Linked DNA regions of Homo sapiens: region 2 is linked to region 1. The links are contacts of gene promoters, found by promoter capture Hi-C in blood cells and fetal thymus (Javierre and others, 2016). All regions are on one chromosome and are shown on one strand. Each heading gives the region's core, a stretch centred on a gene start or on the middle of the fragment in contact. The rest is flanking DNA. Distances are from core to core; before and after follow the strand shown.

Region 1 (6,574 bases), core at 919-3,418:
GCAAGAGGACAACTCTACTGCCACCTCCGCCACACCCCACTGCAGCCTGTCCTAGCAGAAGGGAGATCCTCACACACTCAATGAACTTCTCTCTAGCATCTGAACCAGAATTAAACCTAGCTTAATCCTGGCTCAGAAGAAGTCTTTACTAAGGATTCATCTTCAAATCTGGGGATCAGCATTACCATTTTTATTAAAACTACATTTAGTAAAAACTGTTCACAAATGTTTATCATAAGAAGAATTTTAGAAACTCATTTTTGAGACCGGGCACAGTGGCTGACGCCTGTAATGCCAGCACTTTGGGAGGCCGAGGTGGGTGGATCACCTGAGCTCAGGAGTTCGAGACCAGCCTGGCCAACATGGAGAAACCCCGTCTCTACTAAAAATACAAAAAATTAGCTGGGCATGGTGGCGAGTGCCTGTAATCCCAGCTACTCCGGAGGCTGAGGCAGGAGAATCGCTTGAACCCAGGAGGTGGAGGTTGTAGCGAGCTGAGATCGCACCACTGCACTCCAGCCTGGGCAACAGAGTGAGACTCTTGTCTCAAAAAACAACAACAACAACAACAAAAATCCATTTTTAAGGTTCCCATAAAAATGGGTGAAAGTGGAATTTAAGATCATAAAATCTAATTTTCATGCACAAATACAAACATTCGCCAGACCATCTTTACTGTACCATATGACCATTTACTCGGTCAAAAGGAAATCCACTCATCTCCCTGGATCCCCCGAAGGCTATGCAAGGGGTCCACTGTGCTTCCAGAGTACAGAGGATGCTTAAAGTAACAGATTCCTCAAACTGTGTTGTGGGAAGTTTAAGCGGCAAATGATTAATAAAAGTAATCAATGTCAATGTAGTTTGAATGCTTACAATGATCCTACTACGAGCGGAAACCATTTCCTCATTTCTTTCTTCTCGTTATGAAAATGAGCTCCCCCCACGGGGTTGCCTTGGGCCACCTCCCTTCCTAGGGCGTATTTGCTTATTTGTTTATTTGAGACGGAGTCTCACTCTATCGCCCAGACTAGAGTGCAGTGGCATGATCTGGGTTCACTGCAACCTCCGCCTCCTGGGTTCAAGCGATTCTCCTGCCTCAGCTTCCCAAGTAGCTGGGATTACAGGCATGTGCCACCACGCCCGGCTAATTTTGTATTTTTAGTAGAGATGGGGTTTCACCATGTTGGCCAGGCTGGTCTTGAACTCCTGACCTCAGGTGATCCACCCGACTCAGCCTCCCAAAGTGCTGGGATTACAGGCATGAGCCACCGCGCCCGACCCCTCATGCTTCTTTCTACCCATTCTCAAAATTCTTCAGTGAGGTCCTCCAGGACCAGGAAGGTGCTCTACGGACTTGGGAGGGTGCACTTAATAGGCTAGTTACTGAATCGTGGCCGTTTCCCACTTTGCATCTCCGGCAGCTTGACCCCTACTCCAGGGCCAACTTTTCCCAAAAGCCCAGGCCAGGTGCAGCCTGAACGTGGCTTTCCTCCGCCCCTGACTCTGCTTCCCTGTAAGAGCTGAAAAACATGCACGGCTGTCACTCTAGAAATAATTAGAGAAGTTGCTGATTGTCGAGGGCAGAAGGAGCTGAACGGCTTCCACCTCAGCGCGTTCCCCTTGGTGCTGACTCGCTCGGGAAAGGGGAGTCCTCGGTGCCCTCGCTAAGTAACCCTGGGATGCTGAGGGGCGTTGCCAGGCCCCTGGTCAACAAGAGGGCTCAGCCCCACGCAAGAGGTGAGCCGGGAGCGGATGACACCTGCCCAGGTGACTAGGGACCAGGCCTCCGGCTCAAGGAGCGCATCAGGAGCTGGGGCCAAGGCCGGGGTCTCCTCCCCTTGCCAGCAAGGATGAGAGCACCTGCCATCTGGCCGGCACCCTCCCCTGGGCCCGAGGCTCCTGCCCTCGGAGGGGCGAGACGGGGGAGCTCCGTGGACTCTGCAATTCATGAGACTTCCACGAGGAACAAAGGTCTCCGTGCCGGCCTCGGGTCCCGGTCTCGGCGCCCTGACTACCCCGGGGCCCAGGGCGCGGCGCCCCGGCAGGCACGGAGCCAGAGAGCGGGCGGAGGGCGCGGAGGAGACGGTGGTACCTGTGGGTGGAGACGGCAGGCATCCCTGTCCCCGCTGGGCTGCTGCCTGCCCGGCCGCGGTCCCGGCTGCTGCAGCATCACCCGGGGCGGGGCGCTGACGTCACGGCCGCAGCCTCCGCATCCGCGCGGGGCCCGGAGCCTTAAAGCGGCGCCGCGTCTGGGGCCCCGCGGGCGGGAGGGGAGCCCGGTGTCCTCCTGGGCCCTTCCCGCGGGAGGCCCGTCCCGGTGCTTCGCGCACGACGGCGCGGTCTGCAGGATCTGCCAGGATCCCGGAGGAAAACGTCCCCCCGGCCTCACAGTTCTCACCGTTTTCTTCTGATTTTAAAAGAAATAAATACATTTTCGTGTCTTCATGTATAAATAGATACCCATGTGTTCGCGGATACGTGAATGCCGCAGTGCGTGTGCCAAGCCTGTGCCCATGTGCGCAGTGGGGCAGCCGGGCCTGCTGGAGGCGTCGCGACTCTGGGCCCGGAGCTGTCCAAGGCACTGGGGATGCCGCAAGAACAAGGCAAAGTTCCCGCCCCTGGGGGAACTTTGTAATGTAAGTAAATACATAAATACTTTATGTATTTATTATTTACTTCATTTTTTAAAATACAGAGAGGCAGGGCCTTGCTATGTTGCCCAGGCTGGTCTCGACTCCTGGGCTCAAGTGATCCTTCTGCCTCGGCCTCCCAAAGTACAGGTGTGAGCCACCGCACCCGGCTGCATGACATTTAAGAGAGAGACACACACACATTAAACAAGACATAAAATAAATGGTATGTCAGAAGATGGCAATGCCCTAGAGAAGGGGTTAGGGAGTGTGGGGCTGCAGAGGCGCTGGCCTTGCAGGTTTCTATCAGGTTGTTGGCGAGTCCTCACCTGGAAGGTGACACTAGAAGGAGGATTTGCGGAGCAGGCCGGGCACGGTGGCTCACACCTGTAATCCCTGCGCTCTGGGAGGCCGAGAGGGGCAGATCACCTGAGGTCTGGAGTTCGAGACCAGCCTGGCCAACATGGCAAAACCCCCATCTCTACTAAAAATATAAAAATTAGCCACACGTGGTGCTGGGTGCCTGTAATCTCAGCTACTCAGCTGAGGCAGGAGAATCGCTTGAACCTGGGAGGCAGGGGTTGCAGTGAGCTGAGATCGTGCCACTGCACTCCAGCCTGGGCCACAGAGTGAGACTCCATCTCAAAAAGAAAAGAAGGACCTGAGGAGCTAGGGGGGCCAGCCAGACTGACGTGTGGGGAAGGTCACGCCAGGCACTGGGAAGAGCAAGTGCAAAGGCCAGGGGCAGAAGTGAGCTGGGCTGAGTCCAATAATTACGGATGAAATAATTATGCAGCTGGTAGTGGAATAATAACCCCAGGGAAGCGCTGCAGAGTGGGGGCACGGGGCCCTGTGGAAGTTTACCGCGGCGGATTCCACCCCATTGGGAGGGTCGAGGGCTCCTCAAGGAGCCCTACCAGGCCAAGTAGAGAGAACAGCATGTCCCACACAGAGGGCTCAGAGAGCTCTGCACTGGCAGAGCTCCGGAGGGGAGAGGGCCTGGAGGCACACTGCAAAGGAAGTGGAGGGGGACAGGGATGCAGAGGCCTGGGAAGGAGGTGAGGGCTGGGGAGGTGGGACAGGCCCAGGTGTGGCCTCTTAGGCAGTTGCCAGTTTCTAAGAGCAAAGAGAAGCCTAGAAAGGTTTTATGTAGGGGAGTGGATGGCATGAATCCTATTCACAGTTAGCAAAGATCATAAAGCTCAGAGTGAAAACAGATTGGAGGGAACCAGGGGACCACATGGGCGTACCGGGTGGCACAGGTGGGAGAGTTGGGGGTGTTGGTAGAGGGAGAGAGGTGATGGACTGGCCGGGGACTTAGGACTCCATGATTGACTGAAGGTGGGGGGGTACAGGAACAGCGAGGGTGGTGCTAAGAAGTTTCTAGCTTGAGCGATGAGGGAAGAGAGTGGATTCATGGAGGCCAAAGCAGGTGTGTGCTGGAGTGAATGCCATAGGTTTGCTTTGGGATATGCTGAGCTTGAGGGCCTTCGCAGCCTCTAGGCCACCAGACACTTGGGTCTGGAGCTCAAAGATGCTCCTTTATGAGTCCCCTGCACATGGGAGCTAATTGCAGGTGAACTGTGGACCTCGCACTGCCAGGGAGAGGCGCAGGGCAGAGGGCCCCAGAGGACACCATGGGAATTTCAACAGATCCTGCCCAGGCTGAAGAGAAGGAGCCACTGGAGGGGGCTGGTTCTGGCTTCTTTTATCTCTATAACAGGGTAACAGCTTGAAAAAAATACCGATGTCCTTTTCTATTTTGCATGCAAGTGGCCTGCCATCAACTGATGAGCTTCAGCACCTCAGGGACTTAATGCAATAGAAGCTTACTTCCACATGAGGTTGGCAGAAGTGTGCCTGATGGGTGGGGACCTCTGTGAAGCCATTCAGGGATCCCGGTTGCCTCCATCTTGCTCTGCCCTGGTGCACTGAGGGAGGAGCCCAGGTGGTGCCTGCCCACGGGGCCAGGTGTGCAGGAGGCCCACGTTCCACTCGAATCCCATTGGCTAGGACCCTGCCACACAGCCACACCGGCCACACCCAACCCACAACAGGGCTGAGAGATGGGGCCCCTGTCCCCAGGAGAGGAGGAGATGGGGGTGGGGAGTTGCTGGCTTCAACTGCTTCTGTAACTTTTAGCTGCTTGCAGAGGGGAGAGAAGATGGGGAATGCTGAGAAAACTTAAAGATCATCTCGAGGTTCTGATGTTCACAACGGGATTTTGCAACAAGAGAAGAGGTTTGAAATCTAAGCATTGTTGAGAAAGAAAGGGATTTTGAAAATTCCTTTGACCTTTTTTAAACTTCCAAAGTGAGAACCTTCTAAGGCTAGAGCTTTTGCTTTTTAGCCCCTCCAAGTTCAGGGCAGAGAGCAGTGTTTCTCCCTGGGGGCAGACAAGATTTCTCCTGTCTCGACAATAGGTCTAGACTGGGGGCCAGAGTGGAAGGGGCTGACAGAACATGCAGGAAAGACAAGAGACGCTCGCCCTTCCGGTCCTGGGTGTGGGGGAAGGATGGCAGAGGGAGGAGGGAGAGTGAGGGGGAGGAAGGTGCTTGGGGTGCATCCCAGCTCCTTTCTCCCTGCGCCTCAGCCCTGTCGTGGCAGAGTTTGCTCTGGGCAGAGCCCCCGTACACCAACACAGCGGCCGCAGCCCGGCTGGGGGATCAGAACAGTGGGGGCTCTAATTTGCCCTGTGAGGCTCTTGTGGCTCCCATTCAGTGCCTGGATGCAGAGCTGAAGCTGCAATGGCCCCGTGGGGCTGGGACATGACGTGGGGTGGGGGGACCCTCAGCCTCACTGTGGGAAGGACAGTTGGGCCAGGTGGCTGGGTGGGGGGACTTTGGCAGAGAGACCTGGAGGGGTCTACGGGGCCAGCCAGGGCCCCAGGGAAGCAGGAGCCACACCAACTCCACGCCAGGATCTAAGGAAAACAGGGGACTGCTGCAGCCCTGCCACGTACACGGGGACCGGCAGGCAGCCAGGAGGACACAGGAGCCCCATCCACTGCCCCAGCCCAGAAAGGAACAGAGGATGGAGACAGGACATGCACAGTGTGAGCCTAGAGAGACCCAGTCGGACCCAGAATAATAGGCTCCAACAGTGCAGAGGAGAGCTGGTGTGAGGCGGTGGAAGCCTGCTCACCTGCCATCCCTGGGTGTCCACAAGGTGGTGGAAGAGTCCCACCTTTCCCGGGAGGCAGCAGGAAAACCTCGGAGCAGGAGGTGGGGAAAGGGAGAAGCTTTTCCTGACCTTGTAAAGATTCTTGGTTCTAAGGCTGGATTTTTCTTTCTACTTTGTGAACACACTTTTTCTGCAAAGCATGAAGCCAAGTGAATTTTTATGAATAACGTTATTTGTGATAACAGATCTCGTGCTAGTCACTGTGTTAAGGTGTTTCCGTATTTTAACCTCATGTAGTCATCATAGCTTCAGGAATGGGCATTATCTCCACCATTTCTTTTCTATCCAGAAGCCTGAGACTTGGATGGAGTGGGGTCATGACACAGGCAAGGTTGGAGCGGGAGAGCCTCCCAGGCCTTGTGGTCATTCCTCCATTCGTGCAGCGATTATTTATACAGCATCTACCGTCCTCTGGTGCGGGCGGGAGGTGGGATTCAGAGATGGCATCCGAATCCCCTTGGTCATGTTCTCAGTCCTCAGCCTCCTCAAGGGACTGTGCCGTCCCATTGTCTCTACCACCCCTGCCCATCCCATTCCCTGACTTACAACGTGGACAGCTTGTGGCTCCCAATTCAGATCTGAGCAGTGACAGACATGGGTGTGCGTGTGTACCTGTGTGTACAAAGTGTGTGCTGTGCAAACATAGAGAAAGGTGCATTCTCGGCCGGGCATGGTGGCTCACACCTGGAATCCCAGCACTTGGGGAGACTGAGTCAGACAGATGGCTCAAGCCTAGGAGTTCAAGACCAGCCTGGGCA
Region 2 (6,268 bases), core at 1,118-3,617, 540 kb before region 1:
GGTGTCTATCGAAGATCCCTTTGACCAGGATGACTGGGGAGCTTGGCAGAAGTTCACAGCCAGTGCAGGAATCCAGGTAGTGGGGGATGATCTCACAGTGACCAACCCAAAGAGGATCGCCAAGGCCGTGAACGAGAAGTCCTGCAACTGCCTCCTGCTCAAAGTCAACCAGATTGGCTCCGTGACCGAGTCTCTTCAGGCGTAAGTGTCTTCCCAGGCGAGCAGCTTTCCCGCAGCTACGGCTTGTGAATCAGAAAAGGGCCCTTTTGTTCTGGTGATGGGGAATCCTGCTGGCCAGAATGTAGGACTCGCTGGAATTTTAACAGGTTTTGTGTTTGAACTCAGGAGCCTTTTAAATTAAACAATTGGGGCCTGTAATCCCAACATTTTGGGAGGCCAAGGCAGGAGGATCACTTGAGCTCGGGAGCTCAAGACCAGCCTGGGCAACATAGCAAGTAGTTGTATTCTGTGAAGAGCTCTGTCAGAGAACACTAATCTTTCTCCCATCAAGGGAGGCTGAACCCAGTGTTTCAACTATGACAGGAGGGCTAAGAAGGTCCTGGGGGTGGAAGAGTTCAGGGGAGGGTGAGGGTTCTCCTCTGTGCTCTTGACAAAGCCCAGGCATGGAGGGCTTTAGCCATTAACAGCCCCTCCACTGCTTTCCTGCTGGCACCGAGGGGTAATGGCATTGGGGGTTATGGAACCAGAAAATGGGATCATGCCATCTGGGTTGTTCCTTGGCTTCCAGGTGCAAGCTGGCCCAGGCCAATGGTTGGGGCGTCATGGTGTCTCATCGTTCGGGGGAGACTGAAGATACCTTCATCGCTGACCTGGTTGTGGGGCTGTGCACTGGGCAGGTAAGAATGAGCGTCTCCTCCTTTCTTCTCTGACCTCAACTTCCTAGGAAGACCCAAAACCAGTGAGGCTCCATGTCTGTCCCCGTTTTGCTCATGTCCCCTGAGTCAGTGCTCTTGTTTCTGAGGCTGAACAGAATGGGGGCATGAGCGCCCTGCCTGTATGTTGTGGCCCCCACTTTCCTAGCATCAGATCCTCTAGAAATTCTCTCTCTGACACCACACCCTCTCCCTGCCAGAAATGCCTGCAAAGCTTGTCCGCTGTAAGCAAATGGCCTTTCTTTTCTCCTAGATCAAGACTGGTGCCCCTTGCCGATCTGAGCGCTTGGCCAAGTACAACCAGCTCCTCAGGTAAGGAGGGCTCCTGAGAACAAGGGGCCTGTGGTTCACTAGGTGGGGGCCTGCACTCAGTGTAGGCACTGCCCTCCCCCAGGAGCTCCTGGCTCTGGGAACATGTACAGGTGCAGGTGCACAGTGCAGACAGCCAGGCCCTGAGCAGGCTTAGGTCAGGACAGAGTTAGGCCTAGACTCCCCCTACCCACCCACTGCAGCGCCACCAGAGGCAGGAGCCTGTTCCACACAGTGCTGCCCTCTTCTGGTGAGAAAGAATGGGACCCCCTTTGACAGCTGATGCATGACTTTCTTAGAGCTTTCAGAGAGCTCCTTCATATGATCTGTTTCAGCGCATTTAACCCCTGTTTGTGGATGTGGAGCCAGGGCTGGGAGGGAGGAAGAAAAGGCCGAAGGGCACATGGCTGGGTTTCCACTTGTGAGCGCTGTGGGGCTGTTCTGGTCTCCCTTTCCTGTCTGTGTCCTTGGGAAGCCCCTGAACACCAGGAGACTTGTCCCCCCGCCCGCCACCCCGCTAAGTTCTCCCATATTACCCCTTCATTCAAACTGTATCCTGGAAATTTTCAAACATATACAAAAAAGCAGGTGAACAGTAGACGCAGGGCTTTTTTGTTGTTTTGTTTGTTTGAGACAGGGTCTTGCCATGTCACTCAGGCTGGAGTGCAGTGGGGCAGTCATAGCTCACTGCAGCCTCAAACTCCCATTCTTTTTTTGCTGGGGAATTTTATTTTTATTTTTTTGAGAGGGATCTCACTCTGTCGCCCAGGCTGGAGTGCAGTGGCTCAGTCTTGGCTCACTGCAACCTCTGCCTCCCAGATTCAAGCAATTCTCCTGTCTGAGCCTCCCGAGTAGCTGGGATTACAGGTGCCCACCACCATGCCTGGCTAATTGTTTTGTATTTTTAATAGAGACGGGGTTTCACCATATTGGTCAAGCTGACCTCGGGTGATCCTCCCACTGTGCCTGGCCCCAAAATGTGTTGGCCTTTTTTTTTTTTTTTTTTTTTAACATCAAGATCCAAACAGCTCACACATTTTGTCTTTTAATAAGGTCACTCTCCTTTTCTCCCCATGCCATTTATTTGTTGTCCCTTCAATATTTTTTAAAAAACAAAAGCATTAGAATTTTTATATTCCAAGAAATGGCAATGCTGACATTTTACTTTGCTCCTCTGCAACACTGACGGGGAGAGGAGAGGAAGAGAAGGGGCGGTGGGTGGAGGGCACCTAGCATGGTGAGTTGGGATGAGGAGAACTAAATACTTTTCTATATCTGGCTTCTCAGAGAAGCACAAGTTTAGAGGGTTTAAAGAAGGTGGACAAACTGGAGAGTTCTGTGTTCTCAACTTCCCAGGAGTGGGGCTGTGTCTTTGACCACATCTAGGATGGGAAAACTTAAAACTTGAGGTCTGACTTTTCTTTTTTCCTCCCCATCTCTTTACCTTTCTCCTTCCCAAGAATTGAAGAGGAGCTGGGCAGCAAGGCTAAGTTTGCCGGCAGGAACTTCAGAAACCCCTTGGCCAAGTAAGCTGTGGGCAGGCAAGCCCTTCGGTCACCTGTTGGCTACACAGACCCCTCCCCTCGTGTCAGCTCAGGCAGCTCGAGGCCCCCGACCAACACTTGCAGGGGTCCCTGCTAGTTAGCGCCCCACCGCCGTGGAGTTCGTACCGCTTCCTTAGAACTTCTACAGAAGCCAAGCTCCCTGGAGCCCTGTTGGCAGCTCTAGCTTTGCAGTCGTGTAATTGGCCCAAGTCATTGTTTTTCTCGCCTCACTTTCCACCAAGTGTCTAGAGTCATGTGAGCCTCGTGTCATCTCCGGGGTGGCCACAGGCTAGATCCCCGGTGGTTTTGTGCTCAAAATAAAAAGCCTCAGTGACCCATGAGAATACTCCGTGTGCCTGTGTATGTCTGGAACAATCTGGGTCTGTCCTTAGTGTTCAGGGGCCCCTGGCGAAAGGGTGTCGGCCTTTGAGAACCAAGGTTTGGTGTCGTAACAGAAAAGGATGAGGATCCATTGGGGTCATTTTCCTGGGTCCTTGGGAAGGGAACCAGAGGCAAAGGCAAGAGAAGAGACATACACGGTCCCTCCAGGATAGTGGGGTCAAAACAGAGTCTAAGCTGGAAGGCAGAGCGAGACTTTGTTTGGACACCTTGTTTGGAAGAAACTTCAAATGCAGGCCTATTTGTAGATAATCTTAAGGATGGTAGCTACTAGGTTACACAGCCATATTCAGACCAGAAGGACTTCAGGGTAAAGGTGACCATCCTGGGAAGAGATGTTCTCTTCCCAGGGTCTCTTCCTGGGGAAAGCAGGTGAAAGAAGGATTAAATGGGAGCTCTGGGCAGGAAGGCAGAAGGGCATCAAGAAGACCTCAGGACCCGATTTAAATGAATGAATTCCACTCCTCGGTTTCTCAAGCTTCAGGTTTCATGTGTCCGGTAGCTGCCATTTGTAGCTGCTGCCCACTGCATTGGATTAAGCAGATGGAAAACTTGAATGTTGCAGCAAGTACTGTTCTAGGGTAATGCTGAACACGGGGTGTGAAGAATACGTTTATTAAAAAGTGAGAGATGAAGCGAGTTGTAGTGGCTCATGCCTATAATCCCAGCACTTTGGGAGGCCAGGGCAGGCGGATCATCTGAGGTCAGAAGTTCAAGACCAGCCTGGCCAATATGGCAAAACCCCGCCTGTACTAAAAATACAAAAATGAGGCCGGGTGCGGTGGCTCATGCCTCTAATCCCAGCACTTTGGGAGGCTGAGGCTGGTGGATTACAAGGTCAGGAGTTTGAGACCAGCCTGGCCAATATGTTGAAACCCCATCTCTACTAAAAATACAAAAATTAGCCAGGCGTGGTGGCAGGCACCTGTAGTCCCAGCTACTCAGGAGGCTGAGGCAGGAGAATCACTTGAACCCAGGAGGCGGAGGTTGCAGTGAGCCAAGATTGCGCCACTGCACTCCAGCCTGGGTGACAGCGCAAGACTCCATCTCGAAAAAAAATAAAAAATTAGCTGGGCTTGGTGGCATGCGCCTGTAACCCCAGCTGCTCAGGAGGCTGAGGCATGAGAATCGTTTGAACCCAGGACGTGGAGGTTGCAGTGAGCCAAGATCACACCACTGCACTTCACCCTGGGCAAGAGTGAGACTCCGTCTCAAAAAAAATAAAGAGATGAGAAACTGTGGTTGCCATCTGCACCTTAAGAGGTCCCATATTCTATTACTTGATTTTTCTCCCTAAAAGAAGTATCTTGAGTTGCGCGTTCCAATGCACAGTCAGGGAGCTGGGGAGCCCTCTTGTGGACATTCTTGTTCATTGTTAATGTCAGGATTTAACCTGAGAAGCAGAACCAATAAGGAGAGGTAAAGTTAGCCAAGCATGTCGGCGTAGCTATGGTCCCAGCTACTCAGCAGGCTGAGGCCAGAGGATTGCTTGAGCCCCAGAGGTCAAGGCTGCCATAAGCCAAAATCGCACCACTGCACTCCAGTCTGGGTGACACAGTGAGAGCCTTTCTCAAAAGTAATAACTGGCCTCTGATTGTGGGGCCTGGATAAGCACGTCTGAAATTCACAGGGCTGCCAGTGGGAAGGGACAATGGCCAGCAGCAGGCTGGAACTCCAGGGGCTTGGGTGAAGCTGTCATTTCACAGGTGAAATTTCTGTCTTGAAACCTCGGTTTTTAAGACCACCTCACTAGCTGGGTGCAGTGGCTTGCACCTGTAATCTCAGCACTTTAGGAAGCTGAGGTGGGTGGATCACCTGAGGTCAGGAGTTTGTGACCAGCCTGGCCCAGATGGCGAAACCCAGTCTCTACTAAAAATACCAAAAAATTAGCCGGGAGTGGTGGCGTGTGCCTGTGGTCATAGCTACTCAGGAGGCTGAGACAGGAGAATTGCTTGAACCCAGGAGGTGAAGGTTGCAGTGAGCTGAGATCACGCCACTGCACTCCAGCCTGGGTGATGGAGGAAGACTCTCAAAAAACAAAAAAACACCTCGCTTATGGAGTTGGGCAGATCTAGAGTAATTAGGATAATTCCTTAACGTCTACTTATTAGTAGCTTTAATTACCGCTGCAAAATAGCTTCACAGTAATACCTAGATTAGTATTTGATTGAATAACTGGGGAATCGTCAAGTTGATATATCAAAGCCATCATGGTTCCCCCCTTGTCAGCTCTACACCCATATGCATTTCCTTAAACTATACTTAATCTCCAGATAATGACAGTAACAAAGTCATTCTCCTGCCTAACTTAATGCAATCATCCCACATAAAACCCCAGATACTAACCCTTTCCAGGTTCTCATGACCAGTGTCTGAGAACTGATCCTGGAGGGAAGTAAATCATGGAACTTGGGTCTGACAGTTACTGGCATGTTCTACATCTTGTTTGTCTCAACTCGAAGGCAGCAAGTTAGCATGAGTATTTTTCAGTTTGGTTTAATGTCAACATTTCCTGACTGTGAGGTGAACCTCATTTATCACTCTTGAGGTTAGATGGCAAACACAGGTAGATAGGATCCCTTCCAGTCCACACCACCCTGAAAGGAAGCTGCTGGGCTGGGGTTGGAGCCATTTCCATTGCAGGCTGGACTGAGCGGTTTACCACATTGACCCTGGAGACACAGAGGCCCCAAATAAGGAAAGCCAACTGTGACTAAACTTCCTGACCCAGCAGAAACAAAGCACATTCCTGACATTGACTGGCAGATGTGAGCCCAGCAGAAGTGCAGACCTCTGGGTCCTTTCCTGGGGAGCCTGTCTGAAGCAGGACAGGCAACATGAATAAGTTTCGAGAAAGCCATCCTCAGTGAAACATTTAAGATAGGTCTGGGGTTAGCCTGGGCTGAAAAAAAACTATATATATGGTTTGGTTTGGTTTTTTCTGAGACAGCATCTCACTCTGTCATCCAGGCTGGAGTGCAGTGGCATGATCTTGGCTCACTGCAACCTCCACCTCCTGGATTCAAGTGATTCCCGTGCCTCAGCCTCCAGAGTAGCTGGGATTACTGGCATGTACCACCGCTCCCAGCTAATTTTTGTAATTTTAGTAGAGACAGGGTTTCA

What was found. Contacts are between HindIII fragments. The CHiCAGO score rates a contact against its expected background, and 5 or more counts as called.
Region 2: a fragment that was not itself captured here is called in contact with the fragment with the promoter of SLC45A1 in region 1 in 1 of 17 cell types (total B cells); the score reaches 5.0 in total B cells.

Annotation. Positions count from the first base shown.
Region 1 is chr1:8,313,708-8,320,281 of GRCh38, reverse strand. It overlaps SLC45A1 (solute carrier family 45 member 1), which reads right to left and starts at 2,168. Exons shown (of 9, transcript NM_001080397.3): 1 at 2,096-2,168. RefSeq lists silencers at 2,059-2,338, 5,768-5,817, 5,858-5,907. The HindIII fragment of the contact is 5,366 bases long and covers 1-4,463 here.
Region 2 is chr1:8,857,824-8,864,091 of GRCh38, reverse strand. It overlaps ENO1 (enolase 1), which reads left to right. Exons shown (of 12, transcript NM_001428.5): 9 at 1-201; 10 at 749-857; 11 at 1,147-1,205; 12 at 2,663-3,092. The coding sequence ends at 2,732. Among named protein-coding and RNA genes, the nearest start is that of MIR6728, 5.6 kb to the left of the region's middle. RefSeq lists an enhancer at 1,268-1,562. The HindIII fragment of the contact is 2,516 bases long and covers 1,110-3,625 here.